Regions from separate parts of the Homo sapiens genome. Here regions 1, 2, 3, 4 and 6 are each linked to region 5. Evidence: promoter capture Hi-C in human tissues and cell types (Jung and others, 2019). All regions are on one chromosome and are shown on one strand. The core of a region is centred on a gene start or on the middle of the fragment in contact, and the rest is flanking DNA. Distances in the headings are between cores, read along the strand shown.

What was found. The method cuts DNA at HindIII sites, captures the fragments that hold promoters and counts their contacts. A contact is called where the count stands out against the background at its distance.
Region 1: a fragment that was not itself captured here is called in contact with the fragment with the promoter of SHPK in region 5 in 7 of the 25 tissues and cell types used here (H1 embryonic stem cells, IMR-90 fibroblasts, bladder and 4 more).
Region 2: a fragment that was not itself captured here is called in contact with the fragment with the promoter of SHPK in region 5 in 1 of the 25 tissues and cell types used here (spleen).
Region 3: a contact is called between the fragment with the promoter of CLUH here and the fragment with the promoter of SHPK in region 5, in 1 of the 25 tissues and cell types used here (dorsolateral prefrontal cortex).
Region 4: a fragment that was not itself captured here is called in contact with the fragment with the promoter of SHPK in region 5 in 1 of the 25 tissues and cell types used here (dorsolateral prefrontal cortex).
Region 6: a contact is called between a fragment that was not itself captured here and the fragment with the promoter of SHPK in region 5, in 2 of the 25 tissues and cell types used here (dorsolateral prefrontal cortex and heart right ventricle).

Annotation. Positions count from the first base shown.
Region 1 is chr17:3,084,252-3,088,970 of GRCh38, reverse strand. OR1D2 (olfactory receptor family 1 subfamily D member 2) reads left to right here. Exons shown (of 2, transcript NM_002548.3): 2 at 1-487. Among named protein-coding and RNA genes, the nearest start is that of OR1D2, 18 kb to the left of the region's middle. The HindIII fragment of the contact is 7,207 bases long and covers 1-4,719 here.
Region 2 is chr17:2,786,061-2,790,709 of GRCh38, reverse strand. It overlaps a transcript of RAP1GAP2 not described here. Among named protein-coding and RNA genes, the nearest start is that of RAP1GAP2, 8.1 kb to the left of the region's middle. The HindIII fragment of the contact is 6,818 bases long and covers 1-4,649 here.
Region 3 is chr17:2,709,086-2,713,355 of GRCh38, reverse strand. CLUH (CLUH binding protein of NUMT mRNA) reads left to right here and starts at 1,592. Exons shown (of 26, transcript NM_001366661.1): 1 at 1,592-1,794. The coding sequence starts at 1,695. It overlaps LOC105371592 (a long non-coding RNA gene), which reads right to left and starts at 1,047. Exons shown (of 2, transcript NR_136412.1): 1 at 957-1,047; 2 at 523-874. RefSeq lists enhancers at 327-1,222, 1,223-2,119, 2,954-3,033 and silencers at 1,284-1,463, 1,594-1,713. The HindIII fragment of the contact is 23,363 bases long and covers 1-4,270 here.
Region 4 is chr17:3,025,688-3,029,917 of GRCh38, reverse strand. RAP1GAP2 (RAP1 GTPase activating protein 2) reads right to left here. Exons shown (of 25, transcript NM_015085.5): 20 at 3,797-3,910; 21 at 3,454-3,568; 22 at 2,848-2,974. Among named protein-coding and RNA genes, the nearest start is that of OR1D5, 36 kb to the left of the region's middle. The HindIII fragment of the contact is 3,985 bases long and covers 1-3,704 here.
Region 5 is chr17:3,633,907-3,638,489 of GRCh38, reverse strand. SHPK (sedoheptulokinase) reads left to right here and starts at 2,240. Exons shown (of 7, transcript NM_013276.4): 1 at 2,240-2,438. The coding sequence starts at 2,271. It overlaps CTNS (cystinosin, lysosomal cystine transporter), which reads right to left and starts at 1,730. Exons shown (of 12, transcript NM_004937.3): 1 at 1,659-1,730; 2 at 1,174-1,383. RefSeq lists silencers at 1,365-1,454, 2,465-2,524 and enhancers at 1,735-1,984, 3,823-4,583. The HindIII fragment of the contact is 13,000 bases long and covers 1-4,583 here.
Region 6 is chr17:3,005,326-3,009,625 of GRCh38, reverse strand. RAP1GAP2 (RAP1 GTPase activating protein 2) reads right to left here. Exons shown (of 25, transcript NM_015085.5): 15 at 4,186-4,257; 16 at 3,585-3,671; 17 at 1,481-1,615. Among named protein-coding and RNA genes, the nearest start is that of RAP1GAP2-AS1, 42 kb to the right of the region's middle. The HindIII fragment of the contact is 3,655 bases long and covers 1-3,187 here.

The DNA of each region.
Region 1 (4,719 bases), core at 413-2,912, 550 kb after region 5:
GAATTCAGAAAGTTGAGTATTAAGCTAATCAAGGAGGTGCCCGAGAAAGGTGAAGTTCAACTTAAATTAAAAAAAAAAAAAGTAAGGGTGGAGACCACCCCTCATATTGTCTTATGCCCAATTTCTGCCTCCAAAGAAAGAAGTAAAAACTAAAAGGCAGAAATGAAATCTAAAGGCAGACAGCCTGTCACCACGCCCTGGGCCTGGTAGTTAAAGATCGACCCCTGACCTAACTGGTTATGTTATCTATAGATTACAGACATTGTATGGAAAAGCATTGTAAAAATCCCTGTCCTGTTCTGTTTTGTTCTGATTACTGGTGCATGCAGCCCCCAGTCACGTACCCCCTGCTTGCTCAATTGATCATGACTCTCTCACGCAGACCCCCTTAGAGTTGTGAGCCCTTAAAAGGGACAGGAATTGCTCACTGGGGGAGCTCAGCTCTTGAGACAGGAGTCTTGCCGATGCTCCTGGCCAAATAAACCCCTTCCTTCTTTAACTTGGTGTCTGAGGAGTTTGGTCTGCAGCTCTTCCTGCTAAAAAAGATACAGGATATGAAGGATATGAAAGCAAAAATCTTCAGTGAAATAGATAGCATAAATAAAAAACAATCACAACTTCTGGAAATGAAAGACATATTTAGAGAGATGTAAAATGCACTGGAAAGTCCCAGCAATAGAAACAAACAAGTAGCAGAAAGAACTTCAGAGTTCAAAGACAAGGCTTTCAAAAGCCCAACCCATCAAAGACAAAGAAAACAGAATTTTAAAAAATGAACAAAGCCTCCAAGAAGATTGTGATTATGTAAAATGGCCAAACCTAAGAATGACTGGTGTTCCCAAGGAAGAAGAGGAATCTGAAAGTTTTGAAAACATATTTGAGGGAATAATTGAGGAAAGCTTCCCTGGCCTTGTGAGACATTTAGACATCCAAATGCAAGAAGCTGAAAGAACAACTGGGAAATTCATCACAAAAAGATCATCACCTAGGCACATAGACATCAGGTTATCCAAAGTCAAGATGAAGGGAAGAATCTTAAGAGCTGTGAGGCAAAAGCATCAGGTAACGTATAAAGAAAAACCTATCAGGTTAATGGCAGATTTCTCAGCAGAAACCCTACAAGCTAGAAGGGATTAGGGTCCTATCTTTAGCCTCCTTAAACAAAACAATTACCAGCCAAGAATTTTGTATCCCATGAAACTAAGCTTCATAAATGAAGGAGAGATAGTCTTTTTCAGACAAACAAATGCTGAGAGAATTCGGCACTACCAAGCCAGCACTACAAGAACTTGTAAAAGGAGCTCTAAATCTTGAATCAAACCCTTGACATACACCAAAATAGAACCTCCTTCAGGCATGAATCTCACAGGACCTATAAAACAATAACAAAATGGAAAAATAAAACAAGCTCTTCAGGCCATCAATTAGCATGACAAATAGAATAGTAGCTCATATCTCAATAGTAATGTTGAATGTAAATGGCCTAAACACTCCACTTAAAAGATACAGAATGGTAGAATGGATAAGAATTCACCAACCTAGTACCTGCCATCCCCAAGAGACTCAGCTAACACATAAGGACTCACATAAACTTAAGGCAAAGAGGTAGAAAAAGATATTCCATACAAATGGTCACCAAAGCAAGCAGGAGTAGCTATTCTTAGACGAAACAGACATTAAACCCACAACAGTTAAAAAAGACAAAGACGGACACTACATAATGATAACAGGACTAGTACAAAAGGAAAACATCACAATCCTAAATATATATGCACCTAACACTGGAGCTGCCAAATTTATAAAACATTTACTACTAGACCTAAGAAATGAGATAGACAACAGCACAATAATAGTGGGGGATTCCATACTCCACTGTTAGCACTAGACATATCATCAAGACAGAAAGTCAACAAAGAAACAATGGACTTAAACTATATCCTAGAACAAATGAACTTAACAGATATTTATAGAACATTCTACCCAACAATTGCAGAATATGCATTCTACTTATCAGCACACGAAACATTCTCAAAGATAGACCATATCATGGGCCACAAAACAAGTCTCAATCAATTTAAGAAAATTGAAATTATATCAAGTACTCTCTCAGACCACACTGGAATAAAATTGGAAATCAACTCCTAAAGGAACCCACAAAACCATCCAAATACATGGAAATTAAATAACCTGCTCCTGAATGATTGTTGGGTCAACAACAAAATCAACAGGAAAACTTAAAAATTCTTTGAAATGAATGATAATAGGGACACAACCTATCAAAATCTCTGGAATACAGCAAAAGTAGTACTAAGAGAAAAGTTCACAGTATTATTACATTAAGAATTCTAAAAGAGCACAAATAGACAACCTAAGGTCACACCTCACGGAACTAGAGAAACAAGAACAAACCAAACCCAAACCCAGCAGACAAAGAGAAATAACAAAGATCAGAGGAGAACTGAAGGAAATTGAAAAATAAAAATAAAAATCATAAATGAAACAAGAAGCTGGTTCTTTGACAAGGTAAAAAAAAACTGATAGACCATTGGCAAGATTAACAAAGAAAATAAGAGAAAATTCAAATAAGCTCAATTAGAAAAACGTGGGAGATATTACAACTGATACCACAGAAATACAAAACATTATTCAAGGCTACTATGAATACCTTCATGCACACAAGCTGAAAAACCTACAGGAGATGGATAAATTCCTGAAAATGTACAACCCCCCTAGATTAAACTAGGAAGATATAGAAACTCTGAACAGACCAATAAGCAGCGATATTGAAATGATAATGAAAAAAATGACAACAAAATAAAGTCCAGGACCAGACAGATTCACAGTTGAATTGGTACCAATCCTATTGACACTATTACACAGGATAGAGAAAGAGGGAATTCTCCCTAAATCATTCTATGAAGCCAGTATCACTCTAATACCAAAACAAGGAAAGGACATCACAAAAAAAGAAAACTACAGACTAATATCTCTGATAAACATAGGTGCAAAAATCCTCAACAAAATACTAGCTAACAATCTAATGGCTTGTCAAAAAGATAATCCACCATGATCAAGGAGCTTTTATACCAAGGATGCAGGGATGGCTTAACATACACAAGTTAATAAATGTGATGTACTACATAAGCAGAATTTCAAATAAAAAGCACATGATCATCTCAATAGATGCAGAAAAAGCATTTGACAAAACATCCAACATCCCGTTACGATTAAAACCCTCAGCAAAATTGGCATAGAAGGGACATAACTTAAGGTAATAAAAGCCACCCATGACAAACCCATAGCCAATATTATACTGAACAGAGAAAAGCTGAAAGCATTTCCCCTTGAGAAGTGGAACAAGACAAGGATGCTCACTGTCACCATTTCTATTCTACATCGTACTGGAAGTCTTAGAGCAGTCAGACAAGAGAAAGAAGTAAAGGTCATCCAAATCAGTAAAGAGGAAGTCAGACTGTCGCTGTTCACCAATGATAAAATCATATACATAGGAAACCCTGCAGACTCATCCAAAAAGTTTCTATAACTGATAAATGAATTCAGTAAAGTTTCAGGATATAAAATTAATATACACAAATGAGTAGCACTACTATACATCAGTAGTGACCAAGCTGAGAAATCAAGAACTCAACTCCTTTTACAATACCTAGAAAAAATTAAAATACTTAGGAGTACACCTAATCCAGGAAGTGAAAGACCTCTACAAGGAAAACTCCAAAACACTGTTGAAAGAAATCATAGAAGGCACAAATGGAAACACATCCCATGCTCACAGATGGATAGAATCAATACTGTGAAAATGACCATACTGCCAAAAGTAATCTACAAATTCAATGCAATTCCCATCAAAATACCACCATTATTTTTCACACAACTAGAAAAAACTATCCTAAAATTTGTATAGAACCAAAAAACAGCCCACATAGCCAAAGCAAGACTAAGCAAAAAGAACAAATCTGGAGGCATTACATTACCCGACTTCAATCTATACTAGAAGGCCATAGTCCCCAAAACAGTATGGTACTGGTAAGAAAATAGGCACATAGACCAAGGGAACAGAATAGAGAACCCAGAAATATGCCCAAATACTTAGAGCCAACTGGTCTTTGACAAAGCAAACAAAAGCATAAAGTGGAAAAAGGAAGCCCTATTCAACAAATGATGCTGGGATAATTGGCTAGCCACATACAGGAGAATGAAACTGGATCCTCATCTCTCATCTCTTACCAAAATCAACTCAAGAAGGATCAAGGACTTAAATACAAGACCTGAAACCGTAAAAAATCTAGAAGACAACATTGGAAAAAGCCTTCTAGACATTGGCTTAGGCAAAGACTTCATGACCAACAACCCAAAACCAAATGCAACAAAAACAAGGATAAACAGATGTGACTTAAACTAAAAGCTTCTGCAACAGCAAAAGAAATAATCAATAGAGTAAACTGACCACCCACAGAGTGGGAGAAAATCTTGTAAACTATGCATCTGACAAAGGACTAATATCCAGAATCTTTGGGAACTCAAACAAATCAACAAGAAAAAAATAATAATAATAATCCCATCAAAAAGTGGGCTAAGGACATGAACAGAAAATTCTCAAAAGAGGATATACAAATGGCCAACAAACATATGAAAAAATGCTTAACATCACTAATTATAAGGGAAATGCAAATTAAAACCACAATATAATACCACCTTACT
Region 2 (4,649 bases), core at 1,003-3,502, 850 kb after region 5:
CTTCCCCAGGCATGGGGATGAGGCAGTTACAGGAAGCTCAGGAAACAGATGTCCCGAGTGAAGCAGGCACTAGGTGGTCTGACCCAGATCCTCCCCCATCCAGACAGTAGTACCCATTCCAGCCCCAGTACTAACCCCCTGGAGCTCAGCTCTCATCCCAGATCCACCTCTAAGTCACTGGGGGCAGGTGACCTACTCTTTTGAGACTTCAGCCTACTAGTCATCCAAGGGGAGACTTAGACTGGCCTCTGCTTCCTTCATAAACCATATGAAGATAAAGGGTGATAGAGAGGTCGGGTGCGGTGGCTCACGCCTGTAATCCCAGCGCTTTGGGATTACACCTGCCAAGGCGGGTGGATCACCTGAGGTCGGGAGTTTGAGACCAGCCTGACCAACATGGAGAAACCCCGTCTCTACTAAAAATACAAAATTAGCTGGGTGTAGTGGCTCATGCCTGTAATCCCAGCTACTCGGGAGGCTGAGGCGGGAGAATTGCTTGAACCCAGGAGGTGGAGGTTGCAGTGAGCTGAGATCATGCCGCTGCACTCCAGCCTGGTGACAGAGGGAGACTCCATCTCAAAACCACCAAAAAAAAAAAAGGATGATGGAGAAAGATGCTGGTCTCCAGGGAAACAGGGCACAGTGGGCATTCAGGGCCAGCAACCCCACATTAGTGAAGAATTCACGCCTCAGGGTCAAGATAAAAACAGCACCTAGCATCTGCATAGTGATTTACAGTCCACAGATCACTGCCCACCTGCACTATCTCAAGGTCCAGACTAAATTTCCCATTGCACAAGTGCTGAAAAGCAAGATGATGGCAGATTGCAAAGGGAGGGCTTGTAAAAACTGAGTTCCAAGAGCAGGGCCCAGACATATACCACAATTGCACAATTTATTTATTTACTTTTTTTTTTTTTTTTTTTTTCAGATGGAGTCTCACTCTGTCGCCCAAGCTGGAGTGCACTGGTGCAATCTCGGCTCACTGCAGTCTCTGCCTCCCAGGTTCAAGCAATTCTCCTGCCTCAGCCTCCAGAGTAGCTAGGACTACCAGTACACGCCACCATGCCTGGCTAATGTTTTTTTTTTTTTTTTTTTTTTTAGTAGAGACTGTCTGTGAGTCGTTTCACCATGTTGGCCAGGCTGGTCTTGAACTCCTGACCTCAGGTGATCTGCCCGCCTCAGTTTCCCAAAATTATTGCAGTTTATTCTTATCTGTTCAGTAAGGTCCATCTGCCAAGAGAGTTTTAGCCACACATGGCTCTGAACTAAAGAAGCTACGAAGTTTACTACAGTTAAAAATTTTAAATAATAACAAGGTATCACTTTTACCCATCAGATAAAGTTTTAAAAATTTGATAATGCCGGCCACGGTGGCTCACACCTGTAATCCCAGCACTTTGGGAGGACAAGGCGGGTGGATCACCTGAGCTCAGGAGTTCGAGACCAGTGTGGGCAACATGGTGGAACCCCCATGTCTACAAAAAATACAAAAATTAGTGGGGCATGATGGCAGGCACCTGTAGTCCCAGCTACTTGGGAGGCTGAGGTGGGAGGATCACTTGAGCCCAGGAAGCAGAGCCATGATTGGGCCACTGCACTCCAGCCTGAGTGACAGAGCCCAGACCCCATCTCAAAAAGAAAAAATTGATAATTGTGTAAAGGTATAAGGAAACGGGCGTCCCATTAATGTGTAGCTATTGGGCAATATCTCTGTGCTGGTTAAATTTATGTGTCAATTTGACTGGGCTAGGGGATATCTCCATAGCTGTTGAAATATTATTTCTGGGTATGTCTGTGAGTTGTTTCTGGAAGAGATTAGCCTTTGAATTGGTAGACTAAGTAAAGAAGATGCCGCTTTACCAATGTGGGCCGGCATCAACCAATCCACTGAGAGCTTGAATAGACGAAAAATGTGGAGGAAAGGAGAGTTCATTCTCTGCCTGAGCTGAGAACCCGCCTTCTCCTGCCCTCAGCTATCAACGCTCCTCGTTCTTGTGCCTTAGGACTTGGACTAGAACATACCACCAGCTTTCCTGGATCCCCAGCTAATAGACGGCAAATCATGGGACTTCTCGGCCTCCAAAATTGCATTAACCTGATGGGGTGCAGTGGCTCATGCCTGGCTGGGGCTCAGTAATCCCAGCACTTTGGGAGGCCAAGGCAGGTGGATCACTTGAGGTCAGGAGTTCGAGACCAGTGTGATCAACATGGTGAAACCCACGTCTCTACTAAAAATACAAAAAAAAATCTGGGCATGGTGGCGGGCACCTGTAATCCCAGCTACTCAGGAGGCTGAGGCAGGAGAACTGCTTGAATCAGGGAGGTAGAGGTTGCAGTGAGCTGAGATTGTGCCACTGCACTCCTGCCTGGGCAACAGAGCCAGTCTCTATCTCAAAGCAAACAAACAAAAAAACCCCACAAAATTGCATGAACCAATCCCTCATAATAAATCTAAACACACACACACATACACACACACCCCTATATACATATGTATATATTTCCTATTAGTTCTATTTCTCTGCAAAGCCCTGACTAATACACTCTATCAAAATTGTTTAAGTGCACATACCCTTTATGCCAACAATTTTGTTTTTAGAAATTTATTGCACAGGTTAACTCATACCACTTGACAAGATCTATGTATACAGATGTTAATCATATCATTATAATAGCAAATTCAAAAAATAATCTAAATGATCATCAACTGAGGATTAACTACATTGCAGAATAAGCGTACAATGGAATACTATCTAGCCACTGAAAATAACGAGGTAGCACTTAATATATGTTAATATATGAAGATATGCTAAAAGTTCAAGTTTTAAAAAACAGGCACAGGCTGGGCGCGGTGGCTCATGCCTGTAATCCCAGTACTTTGGGAGGCCGAGGCGGGCAGATCACGAGGTCAGGAGATTGAAACCATCCTGGCCAACATGGTGAAACCCCATCTCTACTGAAAATACAAAAACTTAGCCAGGTGTGGCGGCATGCGCCTGTATTCCCAGCTACTCGGGAGGCTGAGGCAGGAGAATTGCGTGAACCTGGGAGAGGCAGCTTGCAGTGAGCTGAGATGGCGCCACTGCACTCCAGCCTGGGCGACAGAGCAAGACTCCATCTCAAAAAAAACAAAACAAAACAAAAAAACAGGCTCAGCGTGTGGTGACTCACACCTGTCATCCTAGCACTTTGGGAGGCCAAGGCAGGGGGATTGCTTGAGCCCAGGAGTTTGTGACCAGTCCCAGCAACATAGTAAGACCCCATCTGTACAAAAATTTTTTTAAATTAGCCAGGCATGGTGCTGTGCACCTGTATTCCCAGCTACCTAGAAGGCTGATGTGGAAGGATCACTTGAGCCCAGGAGGTTGGGGCTGCAGTAAAGACCACTGCACTCCAGTGTGGCCAAAAAGCAAGACTCTGTCTCGAAAAAAAAAAAGAAAAAAAAAAAAAAACCAAAGCTGGGCATGGTGGCTCACACCTGTAATCCCAGCACTTTGGAGGCCATGGTGGGGTGGATCACTTGAGGTCAGGAGTTCGAGACCAGCCTGGCCAACATGGTAAAACCCTGTCTCTACTAAAAACTACAAAACTAGCCAGGTATGGTGGCATGCGCCTATAACCCCAGCTATTTGGGAGGCTGGGGCAGGAGAATGGCTTGAACCCGGGAAGCGGAGGTTGCAGTGAGCAGAGATCGCGCCCCTGCGCACCAGCCTGGGGACAGAGCGAGACTCCATCTCAAAAAAAAAAAAAAAAAAAAAAAGGCTGGGAGCGATGGCTCACGCCTGTAATCCCAGCAGTTTGGGAAGCCAAGGTGGGTGGATCACTTGAGGTCAGGAGTTTGAGACCAGCCCTGCCAAGATGGTGAAACCCCGTCTCTACTAAACACTACAAAAATTAGCCGGGCATGGTGGCACCTGCCTGTAATCCCAGCTACTCAGGAGACTGGGGCAGGAGAGTCGCTTGAATCCGGGAGGCAGAGGGTGCAGTGAGCCCGAGACCACGCCACTGCACTCCAGCCTGGGCAACAGAGTGAGACTCCATCGCAAAACATTAAAAAAAAAAAAAATTGAAGAAAAAAAAAGAAAAGAAAGGCTTGGACCGTGGGGGCTGTCTGAAGGAGCTTCTCACTAAAGGAGAACACACAGCCAACTCTGCCCACACCCACCCAGCTGGGTCACTCCCGCCCTCCCCTGCTAAGGCGGGGCACCTGGCGCCTCCCAGGACCGGCCAGAAGGTGGGCGTTTGCGCCCTCTGCAGGCAAGCTTGGGTGGTGCGAGGAGGAAAGGGAGCGTCTTCCTGGGCTTGTTTCTAGGATGGCAGCCATGTTGCCCTCTGGCGGAAGGGGTTGAAGGGAGGGGGAAATCCTCCTCCTGCAAAAGATAAGCAACCACCACCTGGTGTCAGAACACACGGATTCCAGCCCCAGTCCTGACATTAAATGTAGCTGTGAGGAAACCACTTAAACTCCCTCTGCCTCAGGTTTTTCATCTGTAAAGAATAACTCCAGGCTGGGCGCGGTGGCTCACGCCTGTAATCCCAGCACTGTGGGAGGCCGAGGCGGACGGATCACCTGAGGTCAGGAGTTCGAGATCAGCCTGGCCAACATGGTGAAACCCCGTCTCTCCTAAAAATACAAAATTAGCCAG
Region 3 (4,270 bases), core at 343-2,842, 920 kb after region 5:
CTCAGCCACCCGAGTAGCTGGGACTACAGGCGCACACCACCATGCGCAGCTAATTTTTGTATTTTTAGTAGAGACGGGGTTTCACCATCTTGGCCAGGCTGGTCTCTAATTCCTGACCTCGTGATCCGCCCGCCTCTGCCTCCCAAAGTGCTGGAATTACAGGCGTGAGCCACCGCGCCCGGCTTTTTTTTTTTTTTTTTTTTTGAGACGGTGTCTGTGTCACCCAGGCAGGAGTGCAGTGGTGCGATCATAGCTCACTGCAGCTTGGAACTCCTGGGCTCAATCTGAGCCGTCCTGAGTGATACTCCCAGCTCAGCTCCCAAGTAGCTGGGACTACAGGCGCGTGCCACTACACCTGGCTTTTTTTAAACAATATTTTTTGTAGAGACGGGGGTTTTGAAATGTTGCCCAGGTTGGTCTCAAACTTCCGAATCCTGAACTCAAGTCATCCGCCTGGCTTCGGCCTCCCAAAGTGCTAGGATTACAGGCGTGAGCCGCTGCACCGCCCGGCCGAGAAGAATCTTACCAGTTCTCATCTTCCTTCCTCCCGTTTAAATGCTCACATCAAGTCGCTGGCTTTCCTCACCACGTGCTCTCCAGAACAAGGTCGGCTTTCCTTCGCAATTTGTGCGAGGCCCTACCTAAGGCCCTCCCAGCCCACCTCGGGAAGCTGAAGCTTTCCAGTTCTCATTAGAGCTTGACAAACGCTCCGAAGGTTATAGGCCTCGGGTGCTTCCCAAAGGCCCCCTGCGGCCTGGCCAGGAAAGACCCACCGGCGCTCTCTGCCTGGAGCACTTCAACTCACTGCAAGACCTGGTCCCAATGTCCCCTCTGCAGCATTCTCTGACCTCACCGTTCCGTCCCCGCCAAGCCCCTGCCAAGTGAAAAATACGAGTTAAAGCGTCCTGGCTGTGGATGGAGTCAGACCCGGCTCTACCCCTTGCTCTCTGTGTGACCTTGGTCTCGGCCTCCTCCACTGTAAAATGAGGACACCAGCCTGGAGGTGAGGACCCATGGGTCGAGGACGCGGGTAGGGAGCCCGTTCTGGCTCGGGGCAAAGTTTGGCGGGTCCATTCTGACTCTTGATCCCCATTAGCCACGTCTCGCCCTCGCCTCTCGTGCCCGTGCCCTAAGCGACCCTCCACTCCCTCAATAATCCAGCCGCACCCATTCGGCGGGAAAGGGCCTGCCGGGTGGGGAGGGCGCTGAGGGTCACGCGAACACCGCAGATGACAGACTGCGCGGTCATTTAGCAAATCTGCAAGAGAAAACAGGGGATCCTTGGAGAGGGGAGGATTAGCCATGGCAGAACCAGACCAGTCTCCACCCAAGGTCACAGTGCCCGCCCGACGGGCAGCGAGCAGCAGGGAGTCTCCCCGAGGCCCCGCCCCGCGAGGGCGCCCAGCCTCCCTGGGCCTTGAGTCAGAGTGCGTTGCCTTTAAGACGTTCTGGAAAGTCACCGCGTCCGTGGGCGGGGAACCAGGCGCGGCGCGTTTTGTCCCTCGCGGGCCGCCGTGGGCTGGGCCGGGCGCGAGGGTGGGGCAGGGAAACGGCGGCGGGGTCAAAGGCCACGGCGCGCACCACGTGGGCCGGTGACTCCGTCCTTCCCTCAGCAGCCGCGGCGCGCAGGGCACTTGGGTTAGTGGCGCGGCGGGCGGCGCGGACAGCCGAGGCGGACGCCCGCTCCCGCCACCATGGTTATCAAGACGGACGAGTTGCCGGCGGCCGCCCCGGCCGACAGCGCCCGGGAACACGGCTCGCAGGCCGGGGGCAAGGGGCGGCCGGGCGCGGCCGGTGAGCGGGGCCAGGGCCAGCGGGCCGCTGGGCGGGGGGCGCCGGACCAGGGCGGGCGGGTTCGGGACTCCGCGGGGATCGCCGCCTTCCCTCCGCGTCGGGCCCGGTTGTATCTCGCTGGGGCCTTCACCGGGTCGCCCCCGCGCTGAAGGTCACCTTCACAGTCGCCCCCGGCTGCGGCCCGGGTTTCGCACGTGCGGTCCCGTGGAGGGCAGCCTCGGCTGGCACCCTCGGCGGGCACACGCGCGCCTCATCGCGGGGACACGTGCGCGCACACGCGGTTTCGGGGTGCGCCGCCGCCGCAGACCGAAAGAATCGGCGGCCCCACCCCCTCTGCGCCCGAGCATGGGAGCTCTCTGAGCTGGGGTCGCTCCGACGTTTGCGGGACAGCCCCCTTCGGCACCTGCTCCGCGGCGGCCTCCCAGGCATCCCCTGTGCGCAGGGCTGCAGCCCTGGGAGTGAAGCTCCGCTCGAGGCTTCCCAGGCTTGGTTTGTGGGAAGAGCACGAGGTGCGGGGTGTGCGTTGTGAGGGGCGTCCCTGGTTCATGCCCTGAGGCCAGGCTATAACCGCAGGTCTTCAGGCTGTGGCGGAGACTCTCAGGTGTGTTGGCCTGCTCGGCCGACCTGGTGTAGGGGGCGTCTGCCTTTGCATGGGGCAGAGCCAAACTCCTTGGCAGGGGGAAGTGTTTGTGCCAGAACTTGATCATTAACCTGCCTTATTGCGAAAAGTGGGTCAGACCAGAGTTGCTGTTTTTAAGGCAAAGGTCGTTAGTGTGGAGTCAAGCTCCCAGCGATCCCCCATGGGGGCTGTATGGTGGTGACTGTGGCAGTGGCTGCAGCTTGTCTCGGGTGGGGCCTGCTTTCCCTTTCTCCTGAGCCCCTTCTCTTCCTTCTGTTCCCTCCACCGTGTCTCAGACTCCAGCCTTGGGGCTGGAATCCCCTTCCCAGGCCCTCAGTCGTCATCTTCCTCAGGCCCTCTTTGCTCTGGGTGGCAGTGGAGGTGCAGAGCTACTCCTGTCCCCCAGTCCCTCCCTCCTCCGTCGACTGTCCTCAGTTGGGACTTGTGGTCTTAACGCCTCATCATCTCCCTTCCTAGCTTCAGTGAGTGCGCCAGGGCTGACTTGGGAATCAGGATGGGGACAGCGTTCAGCCCTCTGACCCTGTTCCCATCATAGCGGAGTTGCCTTGGGGTGAGGGACAGGTGCTGGGGCAGTACTGCTGATTGTCTAGACAAGGCCAAGGTTTGGGCAGAAGAGCAGATGCTCATCGCCCCAACCTACCAGGCTTTGTGCTGATGTGGCTCTGAATCAGTGGGGGCAGGCTGGATGAGAGGAGGTTGGCTGATTTCCCCTCTAGCAGAGACCCGAAGAGTCGAAGTGACTTGCCCAAGGTCACACAGCGATTTAGCTGTTAAGGGAAGTGTTTGGATTCCAGCTCATGGCCAGCAAGCCAAGGCTGCCGTGGCCTGGCCCAGAGGAAGCTGGGACAGGCGTGTTGGTTTGGATCCCGTGCTGAGAACTAGGGGGCTGACGAGCGTCTGTTGGAGGATTTCTGTGAGGGAGTCAGTGAAGCCCCTTCCTAACTCTGCTGGGGGTGGGGGGGCTCTGTCGGGGGTAAACTGAGTCAGGGAAGGGCACAGCTATTTGTTTTGGGGAAACTGGGAGCATACTCGTGGGCAGGACATGGGCTCCTACGTCCCTGGGAAGGTAGTACAGCTAGCTAGGACTTACGTTACAGCCAGCCCGGATCTATTGAAAGAAGGAAGGAGCCTTAATGAAGACCCCCCAGCTGGGGCCCACCTGAGCATCAGAACCAAGGCTTCTGACCTCTGAGATCCAGCTCTGGAAGGCTCTTCAGCCCCCTTAGGAAGGAGCTGATCTAGGCCATTGAGGGTCGGGGGCAAGGGTTGGTTACCTTCCTGGGAATACAGCGGCTTTTAGGGGTTAAGAGAACAGGCAGGTTTTTCAGGTCCACAGTGGTGCGTCAGGTTCCTTCTGCCCAGGGGAGGGCTCCCTGGAGTTGAGGCCCAGAGGGGGAGGAGGAGGAGGCTGGCAGCTGGGGAAGGAGTCTAGGGGCTTATGGGAGCTCCGCAACAGGATCTTGGATGGGATGTGGGGAGAGCAGCCTGAGGAACTCTGAACTGTCCTCAGGCCCTGAACGCCTGCCTCTGGCCTGGGTGGGACAGGAAGGAGGCAAACAGGTGCCTGGTCTGTAGGTTCTTCCATAGGCCGCCTGCCCGCCCCATTGCCTTTCCCTGAAGCCCTGGGCTCCCGGGACGGGTGATGCACCTTTTCGGACCCTACTTCCTGCTGGAGCCTCACTTGCTGAGGCCTTGGCTGGGGCGTGGCCTGGCCCTGGCACAGTCTTCTGAGTGAGATTGTGCCTGGCTTGGGCAGCACACAGGTCCTCTGGGAGGCCTAAGTTTCTTTTCTAGTTCCTCCTCTCTGCCGCCTTTGAGCTCCCGGCGCCTCCAGGC
Region 4 (4,230 bases), core at 463-2,962, 610 kb after region 5:
AAAGCATTCTGTGAGAATCAGTTGGACATATGGGACTTATGGTAAAGAATATTATCTAGTATTTGTACACTGGGTTTGACATCCATCGTATAATAAAATTCCGTTAAGTGTGTGTGAGTGGTGGCAGAGCCCGGTGTCAACATTTCCCGCTGTGCCCCGCTGGCAGGAGGGCCACTTGACTTTCTGGCTGTCCTCTGGCCGAGGGTATGGAAAGCTTAGTGCAGCCTTCCTGGAAGCTGCTGGCTGGTTCGTGGTGCTTCGAATCGAGGAGTTCCACCCAGGGCTACAACACCTCTGTGTAACCTATCAGTCCTCTTCTGTGCCCCAGGAAGCCCAGGTAGGAAATGACCATGATCAGATATCTGACATTATGGAGACTGTACGTCAGGACGTCAGGCCACCTCTCCCCACTCCACCCTGCCTCTCCCCAGACTCAGCCAAACAGCATGAAACCGGTTCCCAGATCCCCCCAAGCCCACCCTGATCCAGTGGGTACCAAGCACATCTTTCGTGGGCTGGGGGTGAAAAGCAGCCCATCGGGGTTAAATACTGTGTGGAGAAAAGGTGTGTAAGAGGCAGCCTCACCGTGTGGTGTGGGAAGCACCGGCCATAAGTCACCAGACCCGCTCCAGGTCCCTTCCGCCCTCGGTGACCTTCAGCAACCTGCAGAGACTCTCTAATTCCTTTACTCAAAACCTTCCTTACTTTGACGTTTATTTAACACCAAGTGGGGGCCAGGCTTGCTTACAGATTCTTTCATTCATTCCTTCAATATTTAAGTCTTATTTAGAAAACAAAACAAAACAAAACAAAAACACCAGGTCAGGCGCGGTGGCTCACGCCTGTAATCCCAGCACTTTGGGAGGCCGAGGTGGGTGGATCACGAGGTCAGGAGTTCGAGACCAGCCTGGCCAACATGGTGAAACTGTGTCTCTACTAAAAATAAAAAAATTAGCCGGGCATGTGGCACATGCCTGTAATCCCAGCTACTTGGAAGGCTGAGGCAGGTGAATCACTTGAACCTGGGAGGCGGAGGTTGCAGTGAGCCGAGATTGCGCCATTGCACTCCAGCCTGGGTGGCAGAGTGAGACTCCATCTCGAAAAAAAATCAGGGAATTTGTATTTCCACCCCCTTTTACAGATGAGGAAACTGAGGCTCAGAGACGTGGACCTGTCAATGCTACAACCAGGATTTGAACCCAGCTCCGCAGCTGCCCAACCACAGGGGGCTGAATGAGAGGAGGCACGTGAACTCTTCCACTCACTGAGAAACACGCATGCAAAGGGTCACTGGCTGTGGAATCACGATCTTCCCTTCATCTCTGACCCTGCAGGTTCCCTTTGCAACATCCCTTCGCTGTGTGAACCCCAGGAACATTTTGGCTTCAGCCACCCTGAAGGCCTGTTGGCCCTTCCTGTGTTTCTACCATTGAGACTAGAGTTTTTCAACCGAATGTCATTTGGGGTCAGAGAATTATTTGTCTGATGTGGCTAGGGGGCTGTCCTGTACATTGCTTATCAGCTTCCGTGACCTCTGCCCACTAGATGCCAGTAGCACCCCTCCAAAATTGTGAAAATTAAAAATGTCGCCAGACATTGCCAGACATCCATGGGGTAGCAAGACTGCCCCCGGCTCAGAACCGCTGACTACACTATTGTCTCATTCCCATTCTTTAACCAACACCGAGGTTAACAGTTCCAGGCCTCGTACAAGCATGAGCTCCTTTCATCTTCATACAACCAACCCTCTGAGGCAGACACGACTCTTCCCCTCCCTTCATTTTCTGCTTGGAGAAACTGAGGCACAGACAGGCTTGGTGACTCGCCCAATGACATGTCTAGTAAGCAGCAGACCCAGGATTTGGACCCAGGCTCAAAGTCCTGTGCTGCCCTCACGAGGGCAGAGACCCGGAGCACCCGCCCAGCAGTGCCCACCGCACAGGTCTACCTGAACGGCCCTCAGGTGCTGGCCCCCCTATTCTGACCAACTGCAGGGATCACAGAACCCCAAAACGCCCAGACTCCTGCTCTCTCTGAACCCCTGCTACTGAGCCCGTACATTTTACCTCCTTGATCTCTCCTGAACCGAGGTGCTTCTGCCGCAGCTCCCCTCCCCTCCTCTCCCCTCCCCTCCATCCCTCCCCTCTGCTCCTGCTCTCTACTAATCCATTCTACACTCAGCAGCTGCAGCAGCCAAAATGGACTTTCTCAACTCCAGATGGTGCTTCCCTACTTAAGAACCTTCAAACACTCCAACAGTGGCCGCTAGCAGAACAAAATCCTCACCCGGGGCCCGGGGCTGACCCAGCCTGTCAACGCTCCGGCCTCTCTGACGCCTGGCTCTGTGAACCCAGCTGCCATGAACACGTGCAGTTCCGGAATACCCGCTCTCTCCTCTCCTCTGGGCCTTTCCACATGCTGTTCCCTCCCCCTGCAGCCCTTCCCCCGTCTTGTATTATCAAGACCCCCGACATGACAGACGGGCCCTGGCAGCCCTGGAGCGCTGGCAGGTGGGGAGAAGGGTTGGAGCACTGGCAGGTGGGGAGAAGGGCTAATGGAAAGTGCTCAGCTTTCCCACTGCCAATCCCGACTCCTCCGCTGTGGGATCTCCCACAAGGCCTTCAACTCTCTGCCTCAGCTTCACAACTCTCAGTGTAAGAAGAGCTTAGGAACTTGGGCATCTTAAGGCTGATGAACAGAAGAGGCGGGCGCACAGAGCGGAGGGCCTCACAGCTGGGAGGAGGGGTGAAAACTGGCCAGTTCAGCGTGGCTGGGGCCCTGCTAACAGTGGACAGGGCACAGCCTGCCCTCCTGGTGACGTCACACACACCACCAGATGCCACTGACCTGTGGGACTCCGGCTCATGATGATCGGGGTGGCAGCTGCCCCCAGGCTGGGGCTCTCGCTGCTCGGGGACGGGCTGTAGACAAACACCTCCTGCTTGAAGGGTGAGGTCGTGGACGGCTGGCTGCCCTGAGGAGAGAGGCAGGGTGAGCGAGGCCAGCCCACCCTCGGCAGCTGCGCCCACGCAGGCCTGAGGCAGCCCCCAAAAGCCCAGGACAGCCGCTGCCTCCTGCTCCCCACTTGGGCCTGCTCTTTCTTTCCTGCTGACTTCAACCCTGGTTCCAAGCTATCCTGCTCCAAGAAGGACCTTTGACCCAGCCCCCTGGGGCACTGGCCACTCACCACTCCAGCCAGGAACCCCAAGGCAGGGCACCATCGGGTCTGGCCCCTGCCCTCTGCTGCTGCTATGTCACTCTGAGAGAGAGGTCCCCTCACCCACTGCGCCCAGGGGGTGGTGATGGCCAACGAGCCCACCTCTCGTTTCCATTCTTCCCCTTTCCTCTGCAAAGACTGACATGGGCTTCGATCCACAGTGCCGTTTTAATGCAAGGAGGGTGGCTGGCTGACGCCCCAGAGTGCCTGCCCAAGGGTGGACGGGGCACACCTACCCCACTGTCGCCCTCCTCCATGGCCTCGCCCTCCCCTGCAGTGCTGCTGACGCTGCTGGTGCTGGAGGAGGAGCGGGAGATGGCACGGCCGTTTTCCTTCAACTTCATGAAGGGCCTGCAGGGAATAGGAAGTGAGGCCAGCCCGGGTCACACGCGAGAGCCCTCCACCCCCAGGGTCCTCCCCGGGACCTCTGGCGGCTCCCCACGCCCCCACCCGTCGGCCTTTGTGTTCTGGAGAGTTCCAGAGGCAGGAGATGGCCACTCTCAGCTGGCCAGGAGGCAGAGGGCGTGTTCCAGGGCTCCACGTGGCCGAAGCTGGCCTTTCCCACCCTCACTCTCTTACTTCTCCTTGTTGGGGCAGATTTCCGGAGAGCTGGGATTGGATGAGGTCTCAGACTTTATCTCCTGAGAGGAGTGTCCACCATCTGGGGTCTTGGGTGTGCTGGATGTGCTGTCACTGAGGGAATGGAAATGAGGAGTGAGGCCGCGGAGACAGCCCTCAACCCCCACCCCATCCACGGCCCCAGGCAGAGCCTCTCTCGGCACGGTGAGGGGCAGTGGGGTCAGAGCGCCCCCGCCTGGCATCACTGCCTGGATGTCCTTTCCCACCTGAGCCCCCCAGAGATGGCGGCATACTACAGGGTTTCCCGGTCCCTACAACAGGGACTATTCTAGGTTCATGGTGAAGTCCAGAGCTGCCAAGCAGGAGTCCTGGCTTGACGGCCTCTAGCCCAGATCTCTCTCACCCAAGCTGGCCATCACACCTGGCGGAGTTGT
Region 5 (4,583 bases), core at 991-3,490:
GAGGCAGTTGGATCACTTGAAGTCAGGAGTTCGAGACCAGCCTGGCCAACATGGTGAATCCCCGTCTCTACTAAAAATACAAAAATTAGCCAGGCGTGGTGGCATGTGCCTGTAGTCCCAGCTACTCAGGAGGCTGAGGCAGGAGAATCGCTTGAACCCGGGAGGTGGAGGTTGCAGTGAGCCGAGATTGCACCATTGCACTCCAGCCTGAGTGATAAGAGTGAAACTCCGTCTCAAATTAAAAAAAAAAAACAAAAAAAAAACCAGATTGATAATTACATACAACTAGTGGCTTGTGAAAGCTACAAGATAGAAATGAAGTATCTCCTGACAATGGGCTCTGTCTGGCGTGCCCTTCCTATGTAAGTTCTAACTATTGTCCAGGCCTCATTCAGATGTCACATGTTTCAAGAAGGCTCCTCACCCATTCAGTCCCTTCCCAGGAGCAACCTGGGGCTAGGGGTCTAGTGTGGCAGCTCCTGTCTGCCAGGTATGAGTTGGTCCTGTCCTCTGTTCTACGACCTGGAACTCCCTGGGTCTCCTGCTTTTGGAGAGGGTACACAAATAGTGGCAAGGGCTGTGTGCACTGGAGACAGGCTTGACCTATTTATTACTTATGCGACCTTGTGGTGCCAAACAAGGAGGTGGTAACTACCTCACAGGACTTAAATGAGGAGATGTAAAGCACGCATTGTCAAGTGGGACTAAAATTGGCTGGGGGTAGGCTGGGCGCGGTGGCTCACGCCTGTCATCCCAGCACTTTGGGAGGCCGAGGTGAGCGCATCACCTGAGGTCAGGAGTTCGAGACCAGCCTGGCCAACATGGTGAATCCCCATCTCTACTAAAAATACAAAAATTAGCTGGGCATGGTGGCTCAGGCCTGTAGTCCCAGCTACTCGGAAGGCTGAGGTAGGAGAATCGCTTGAACCCCGGAGGCGGAGGTTGCAGTGAGCCGAGATCGCGCCACTGCACTCCAGCCTGGGTGACAGAGGCTGCAGACTCCATCTCAAAAAAAAAAAAAAAATTGGCTTGGGGTGGTAGTGAAGAAATCTAGCTATTACAATGGTTTGTGGCCACAGAAACAAATACACAGCGTACTAGTGGTATTAAATTTTATGGGAAGGGGGTAGGTAGGAATAACGAGGTTGAGAAACAAGGATATAAAGTGGTTACCTCTGTTGCTTAGGGCGCCTAGCGAGCTCTCACAAAACACAGTAATCCTCAATGTTACTGGAAGAGGCAGAGCTCAGGAGTCCTCCCTTCGCCCAGTGTGAAAACCCGGAGGGGAGGATGGGGTCTCGTGCTGCTCAGTCCCCCGGAGCCCCGCACTCCGCACGTCAACCGGCGCTCTCGCAAAGGTTCTCTCAGCGTCTCCAAAGCAATCTGCAAATTCCCCAACCGAGACCCAGGCGGCAACTGAGCAGAAGGTAAGGGGCTGGGAACGGCACCCACCCCGGCAGCCCGCTGCCCCTGCCTCGGCTGACCACCGCTCGGGCCCTTCCACCCGGGGGTTGTCCCGTGTCGCGAGGCCAGCACTGGTGGCGGGGAAAGGAGCCCGCCGCGGCTGAGGGCGCTGGACCCCCGGCAGGCTGCCCCGCTGACCTGCTGTGCCTCAAGGGGTCCGCCTGGGAAACAGGGGAGGCCGCGTCCGCTCTCACCTGAGCGCCCCCAGGCTCGAGGAACCGCCCTCACGGGACGCATGAGCCTCGCCAGGTGCCGGTCAGGAATGCACCGCGTTCCCCTGCCCGGCTAGACTTTGGGAGAGGCGGGTCCGCTGTCACCTGACCTCCGCCACCTGACTCGTGGGGCCGGATCTCGGCGAGATGAGCTCTGGGAGTTGTAGTTTCCGCGCGTCTTAGACGGACAGAGCGCAGCTGGGTCGGGCCGGGGCGCAGAGATCGGGGCTCCGGCGTGAGGGAAGATGAGGTCCGCTGCCAGGGACACAGAGACTCTTGGAGCCGCCAGCGCCTCCCGGCTCCTTTCGTGAGCGAAGCTCAGACCGCCCTCCATTGGGCGGAAATCAGAGCCCGTGGGGCGGGGCCCCCTTTAGGTCCCGCCTTCCGCCGCCTCTCCGCCTATAGCCGGGGCCCGCCGAGAGGTTGCGTGGAAGCTCGCCTTCCCCGGCCAGTGGGAAGACGAGAAGCCTCCATGTTGGGTGTGGCTGAAAGATTGGCAGGCGACTCCCCGCCCCTGCCCCGCCCCCCTGGGCGAAGAGCGCGGACTTGTGGGGCCGCTGGCTGCAGACTGGAGCTGCGCGGGTCAGGGAGATAATGGCTGCGCGGCCGATCACCCTCGGCATTGACCTGGGCACCACATCTGTGAAGGCAGCTCTGCTGAGGGCCGCGCCCGACGACCCATCCGGGTTCGCAGTGCTGGCGAGCTGTGCCCGTGCTGCGCGGGCAGAGGCGGCGGTCGAGAGCGCGGTGGCCGGGCCCCAGGTGAGTTGGACCCCCGGGGCCGCGCCGCCTCCAGGAGCCTCCTGACCACCCTTTTCCACCCCAGGAGGCCTCCCTGACAGCCCTTCCCGCAATGAAGTCTCTATTCCAGCTTGTCCCCAGCTTCTCCAGGGGCCCGTCTGCCTGCAGCAGCTGTGCTCATGATCCCTTAGGTCTGGTCCCAGAATCCTTCCCACCTGCTGGGACCGATTCCCCCCCGCCCCCTCCCCGACTCTCTGGCTTCTTCTGGGGGCCTTGCGCTTGGCGCTGGATCCCTGTGCTCTCTGTCCCCTGACCTTGGAGGAACTGATCTCTTGTGTGTATGGAATGACCACAGGCCTCCCTTTCACTCTTGCTGCTCTCCGCTCCTCACACCTGCCCTGTGACCTCAAGTTCAGGATTCAGTTTGTTGCCCAGGGCAGAGTCTGGGTTTTCCTCCGGAAATCAGATGTCAAATCAGGCCTAACTGGCTCCTGGCTCATTCCACAGAAGCAGAATGCGGACCAAGAAACCTTTGGTCAGCCGGGCGCGGTGGCTCACGCCTGTAATCCCAGCGCTTTGGGAGGCCGAGGCGGGCGGATCACGAGGTCAGGAGATCGAGACCATCCTGGCTAACACGGTGAAACCCCGTCTGTACTAAAAATACAAAAAATTAGCGGGGCGTGGTGGCGGGCGCCTGTAGTCCCAGCTACTCGGGAGGCTGAGGCAGGAGAATGGCGCGAACCCGGGAGGCGGAGCTTGCAGTGAGTCGAGATCGCTCCGTTGCACTCCAGCCTGGGTGACAGAGCGAGACTCCTTCCCTTCCTTCCCTTCCTTCCTTCCTTCCTTCCTTCCTTCCTTCCTTCCTTCCTTCCTTCCTTCATTCTTTCCTTTCTTTCTCTTTCTTACCAAGTCTCGCTCTGTTGCCCAGGCTGGAGTACAGTGGCGTGATCTGGGCTCACTGCAACCTCCGCCAACTGGATTCAAGTGATTCTCCTGCTTCAGCCTCCCGAGTAGCTGGGACTACAGGTGTGAGCCACCGCGCCCGGCTACTTTTTGTATTTTTAGTAGAGACAGGGTTTCGCCATGTTCGCCAGACTGGTCTTGAACTCCTGACCTCAAGTGATCTGCCCACTTCAGCCTCCCAAAGTGCTAGGATTACAGTTGTGAGTCACTGCGCCTGGCCCAGCTTTGTTTTTCACAAGCTCTTGCCACATACATGGACACGGTTGTTTAGGGTTCAGAGCCCATTTGGCTCAGAAGCATTTCTGAGGATAGGGATTTCAGGAGCACTTTGTATCTACATAGAAGCTTTCAAGATTAGTTTGGTTGGGACATTAGGGCATATTAAAAGGATTCTTACTTAAAGGACTATGAATTGGAGGCAAAGTTGGCTCTGACCCTGGTGGGGTGAGCAGGAGAGCTGGCATTAGGGGAGAGTAGGCTCAGAAAGTGCCAGTTTCTCCTGAAATAGAGCACTTCTTTTTTTTTTTTTTTTTTTTTTGAGACAGGGTCTCGCTCTGTCACCCAGGCTGGAGTGCAGTGGTGCAATCTCTGCTCACTGAAACCTCTGCCTCCCGGGTTCAAGTGATTTTCGTGCCTCAGTTTCCCGAGTAGCTGGGATTACAGGTGTGCGCCACCATGCTTGGAGAATTTTTTTGTATTTTTGGTAGAGATGGGGTTTCACCATGTTGGCAAGGCTGGTCTCAAACTCCTGACCTCAACTGATCTGCCTGCCTCGGTTTCCCAAAGTGCTGGGATTACAGGTGTGAGCCACCGCACCCAGCATGGCCACTTTTTTTTTTTTTTTAATTGATCACTCTTGGGTGTTTCTCGCAGAGGGGGATTTGGCAGGGTCATAGGACAATAGTGGAGGGAAGGACAGCAGATAAACAAGTGAACAAAGGTCTCTGGTTTTCCTAGGCAGAGGACCCTGCGGCCTTCCGCAGTGTTTGTGTCCCTGGGTACTTGAGATTAGGGAGTGGTGATGACTCTTAACGGGCATGCTGCCTTCAAGCATCTGTTTAACAAAGCACATCTTGCACCGCCCTTAATCCATTTAACCCTGAGTGGACACAGCACATGTTTGAGAGAGCACAGGGTTGGGGGTAAGGTCACAGATCAACAGGATCCCAAGGCAGAAGAATTTTTCTTAGTACGGAACAAAAT
Region 6 (4,300 bases), core at 111-2,610, 630 kb after region 5:
CTCTGCGGTCCAGCCGGGCAGTGGGGGACTGACCCCAGGCCTGCCCGGGCCCAGGCTAGTGCGGGTGGAATCTTAACAAAGTCAGGAAGTGGGAGGTGGTGTCGGATTTGGAATCCGGCGGACCTGGATTCAACTCCACCTGCTCCCACAAATGATTCTGTCTCTTTGAGGCTTGGTTTCCTCCCATATAATACTATGCCTATCATTATTAAAACTGAGTATGAACTATTATACCAAAATTATTACACCCCAAATAATAGCCTTCCTCACAGGGCACTGAGGGCAGTTGTGAATCTCCAGGTGGGATAATGTGTGTGAAGCTTTCACTTTATACAACTGTAATAACAGCTGACATTTTTGAGCATTTACTATATTCCAGGCAATCTGGACTTTTCCAGGCATGGTATCAATGAACTCGCACAATGGCTCTGACAGGGGTCCTGCTTCCTATCCTTATGTTGTTGACAAGAAAGCTGCACCTTAAGAGGCTTGAAAGACTGCCCAGGATCCCACAGAGCTGCGGTTTTAATAGAGGTGGGTGTAGCCCTACACATAATTCCCCATAAAGTCCCACACATAATGCCCCCAGATGGGAGTTTCCAAATCACCTTCTAACAGGCAATCCAGCAGCACACGGACCTAAGAATCAGAAGACCTGCGTTTGAAATGAGGCTCTAACTCTGCCTCGGTGTAAGGACCTGAGCAGGCCTGTGGCGTCTCTCATCCTGTCCCCACGTGTGTTCGTGAATATAACAAGACCCGTTCCGCCACCTGCACAGGCTGACAGCCAGGCTCGAGCCAGATGCTGGGTCTACGTGCTGCGTGGACCAACAAGCACTCAGCAAGCATAAGATGAAAAACCTCTACCACACGCCAGCTCGGGGGCCGTCCGAGCTCCACTTGAATACTTCCAGGGACAGGGAGCTCACTGCTTCCTTTAGCAGCTCCTTCTAGTTAGTTTTTTTCCCTTGGCAAAGTCCAAAGGGACTTGCCTATAGTTCCATGGCCCCTGCCCAGCCAGGTCTTCCAATGCTCGGCCGGCTGGCTAGGAAGAATCACTGTGGCACCCACAGCAGCTACGAAGACCCGTAAGGGCTGTGGTCCTCGCTCCTGCCATTCTGCCCTGGGCTCCCCAACCCAGGAGGAGGCAGGTGAAAGCGCCGATGTTCCTGGCTTGCTCCAGCTCCTCTCCTACTGCTACCTCTTTACCTGTCCCTGCTTAACAGACTTCTGGGCCCGGAGGAGATGACCCAGATAGAGGAAGGATGGGGAGGCTGCTGAGAAAACTGCTGGCTGCTCCAGCCTCACACACTTCCTAACGGCCCTGCCCTTTGCAAACACCTAGGATACCCATACGTTTCCTGTCACCCCTCCAGCTGGCCCTTGGGCTCTGGGATCAGTATCCCATGGACCTTGGACCACTTCCTTTCTTCCCCAATCCCAACCCCACAGCAACCATCAGTCACTCTGACGCTCATACCTTAAAAGACTCCAGGAACCCCCCGTGGCCTCCATTCTCAAACTTGTCCTCCTCTGGGCCCAGTCCCAGCATGGCCTGTGTGTGGGCGTGGAGCTCATCGTGAAGGTTGTCCAGGAGGGCAGCCCTGGTCCGGTCCTAGAAGGGAAGAGGGTGGGGATGGAGAAGCTGGCTCTGAGAGCAGAGATGTGCCTGCTCCTTGTGAGCTCCAGACACCTGGCCTGGAGGCTGACATTCTGCCCAGCCCGGCCCAGCAACGGTGTGGACCTACTGCTGAGCTGAGCTTCGTGCTCACAAATGCTGCAGCTAAGATGAAGGCTGCGTGCTCGGCCTCCTGCTCTACTCCCCCTGCCCTTCTCCCTGGGTCGTCCCACCACTGCCACAGCTCCACCCTGGTGGTAGAGGAGCAGAAGGAAGAGTGAATCCCAGCCCGGCCCTCTGCCCCAGCTCCACATCCACGCACCCAACTCCCCACTGCTCCTCTCCATCCAGATGTTCGTCCAGAGCCATGCACATGGATGCCAGGGGCCGCTATTCACACAGATGAGGACTGGCCCTTTCAGCAACCCGGCCTTCGCAGGCACAACTTGGCCACCATGTCATCAAAGAGCCCAGGCCAAAGGCCCAAGAGTCACCCTACAATCAATCCCACGTCCCACAACACTTACAGCCAGGAGTCCACCAAGTCTTCCCAACCTTGACCCTAAACCATTTCCTTCCATACAGTATAAGCCTTTGTCATCTCTCCTGCATTCCTGTAAATAGCTTCTAACTGGCCGCCTTCCTGCACCTCTTGCCCTGCAACCTGTCCTTGTCACCATCGTTCTCAATGACACCACTGTCAGAGCAATCCCTCTGGCATACACATCGAGCCCCTCACTCTCCTGCCTAAGCGCTTTACCAGCAGCCCACCGTCCCGAGCTCAAAGCCCTTCTGGATCTGATCCAACCAACATCTCCGGCTGAGTCTCCACCATTCCAGCCCCCGTGGGTCCTTCAGCCACAGCAAACCCTCAGGAGCTCCCTCCTGACGTCAGGCTCTGGTTCTTCCTGACCTTTGCTCATGCTGTCTACCATGCCAGATCAGCCCTCCCTTCCCCACTCTTTCCTCCTGGCAGAAGGTTCATCTGATATCAAGATTCAGCTGTGCATGAGCCACCTCCTCCAGGAAGCCTTCCCTGAACACACCCTCTGTCCCCTACAGGCAGAAACAGTCACTATCTGAGCTGTGCTGACCTCCATCCCAGCCTAGTGCTGGCACACTGTACTATAACTATCTATTTAGTAATGACCCCCTGCCCCACCCCCCGACTACCCTGTGTACTCTCCAGGGATAGAAACTGTCTCACTTATCCCCATATCCCAGGGAACAGAATAGGGCCTGACACATAGTAGGTGCTTTAAAAATGACTGATTGGGCCAGGCGCAGTGGCTCACGCCTGTAATCTCAGCATTTTGGGAGGCCGAGGCAGGCGGATCACGAGGTCAGGAGATCAAGACCATCCTGGCTAACATGGCAAAACCCCATCTCTACTAAAAATACAAAAAATTAGCTGGGCGTGGTGGCGGGCGCCTGTAGTCCCAGCTACTCGGGAGGCTGAGGCAGGAGTATGGTGTGAACCCGGGAGGCAGAGCTTGCAGTGAGCCAAGATCGGGCCACTGCACTCCAGCCTGGGTGACAGAGTGAGATTCTGTCTTGAAAAAAAAAAAAGGACTGATTGGCCAGGCGCAGTGGCTCACGCCTGTAATCCCGGCACTTTGGGAGGCTGGGCCAGGCGGATCACCTGAGGTCAGGAGTTCAAGATCAGCCTGGCCAACATGGAGGAAACCCTGTCTCTACTAAAAATACAAAAATTAGCTGGGCGTGGTGGCGCACACCTGTAATCCCAGTTACTAGGGAGGCTGAGGCAGGAGAATCACTTGAGCCCGGGAGGCAGAGGTTGTGGTGAGTCCCAAGATCATGCCACTGCACTCCAGCCTGGGTAACAGAGCAAGACTCTGTCTCAAAAAAAAAAAAAAAAAAAAAAAAGATGGAGGAGCCCTGGATGAGGCTGGCTAACAGGTGGCCCAGCAGTCAGGAGGGAGACCTTCAGAAACCACACTCTCACCTCCAGCTTTGCAAACTTGTCCGACTTGCAGCAGGCGTTCTCGGCATTGGTGAGCTTGGTGAGCAGAAACTCCCTGAATTCCGGGCCCTGGAAGAGACAAGACGGACCTCAGGTCTGTCACTCTCGGCTGTTGCCAGAAGGTCTTCAGCCACAGTGACAGGCAGGCAGAGCCGGGGCCATGGGGAGAACCCCTGAAAAGTCCCTTCCGACAGCGGATCATTTCTAGCCCAGGCCAAGCCCACTTGCAAATATCCCAACAAGGAAACCCGCTTCCCTGGTCCTGGGAAGCCACAGTGGCACTTCCACGACTGGAGCTCATTCCTGCCCAAGGCTCCTTGACCGGGGCTCAACATAAAAGCCCGTCTTTCAGCAGAAAAGCAACCCCAGTGTCAAACACCCTGACAAGTGGTCCTATGCTGGGCCAGACTGGCAGCATGAAAGAGGTGGGGAGAGACCCCAAGAAAGGAGGTTCCCCCCAAAACCTGCAAAAGGAGCTCCCTAATGTTCCCAGCCTGAATTTGGCTCCATCCCAACCATTGCTACTCAAGCACTGAGACCTGGCATCGTGGATGCGAGAGGGGCAGAAGGAAGAGTGTCCTACCTTCTGGAAAACGGGGGGACTGGGCAGAGGTGGACCAAAGGTGGGCACATCTTCCCGCGCAGTGACAGAGACCTGAGTGAAACAGAGTCATGGTACGGACCTGGAGGGAAGAGAC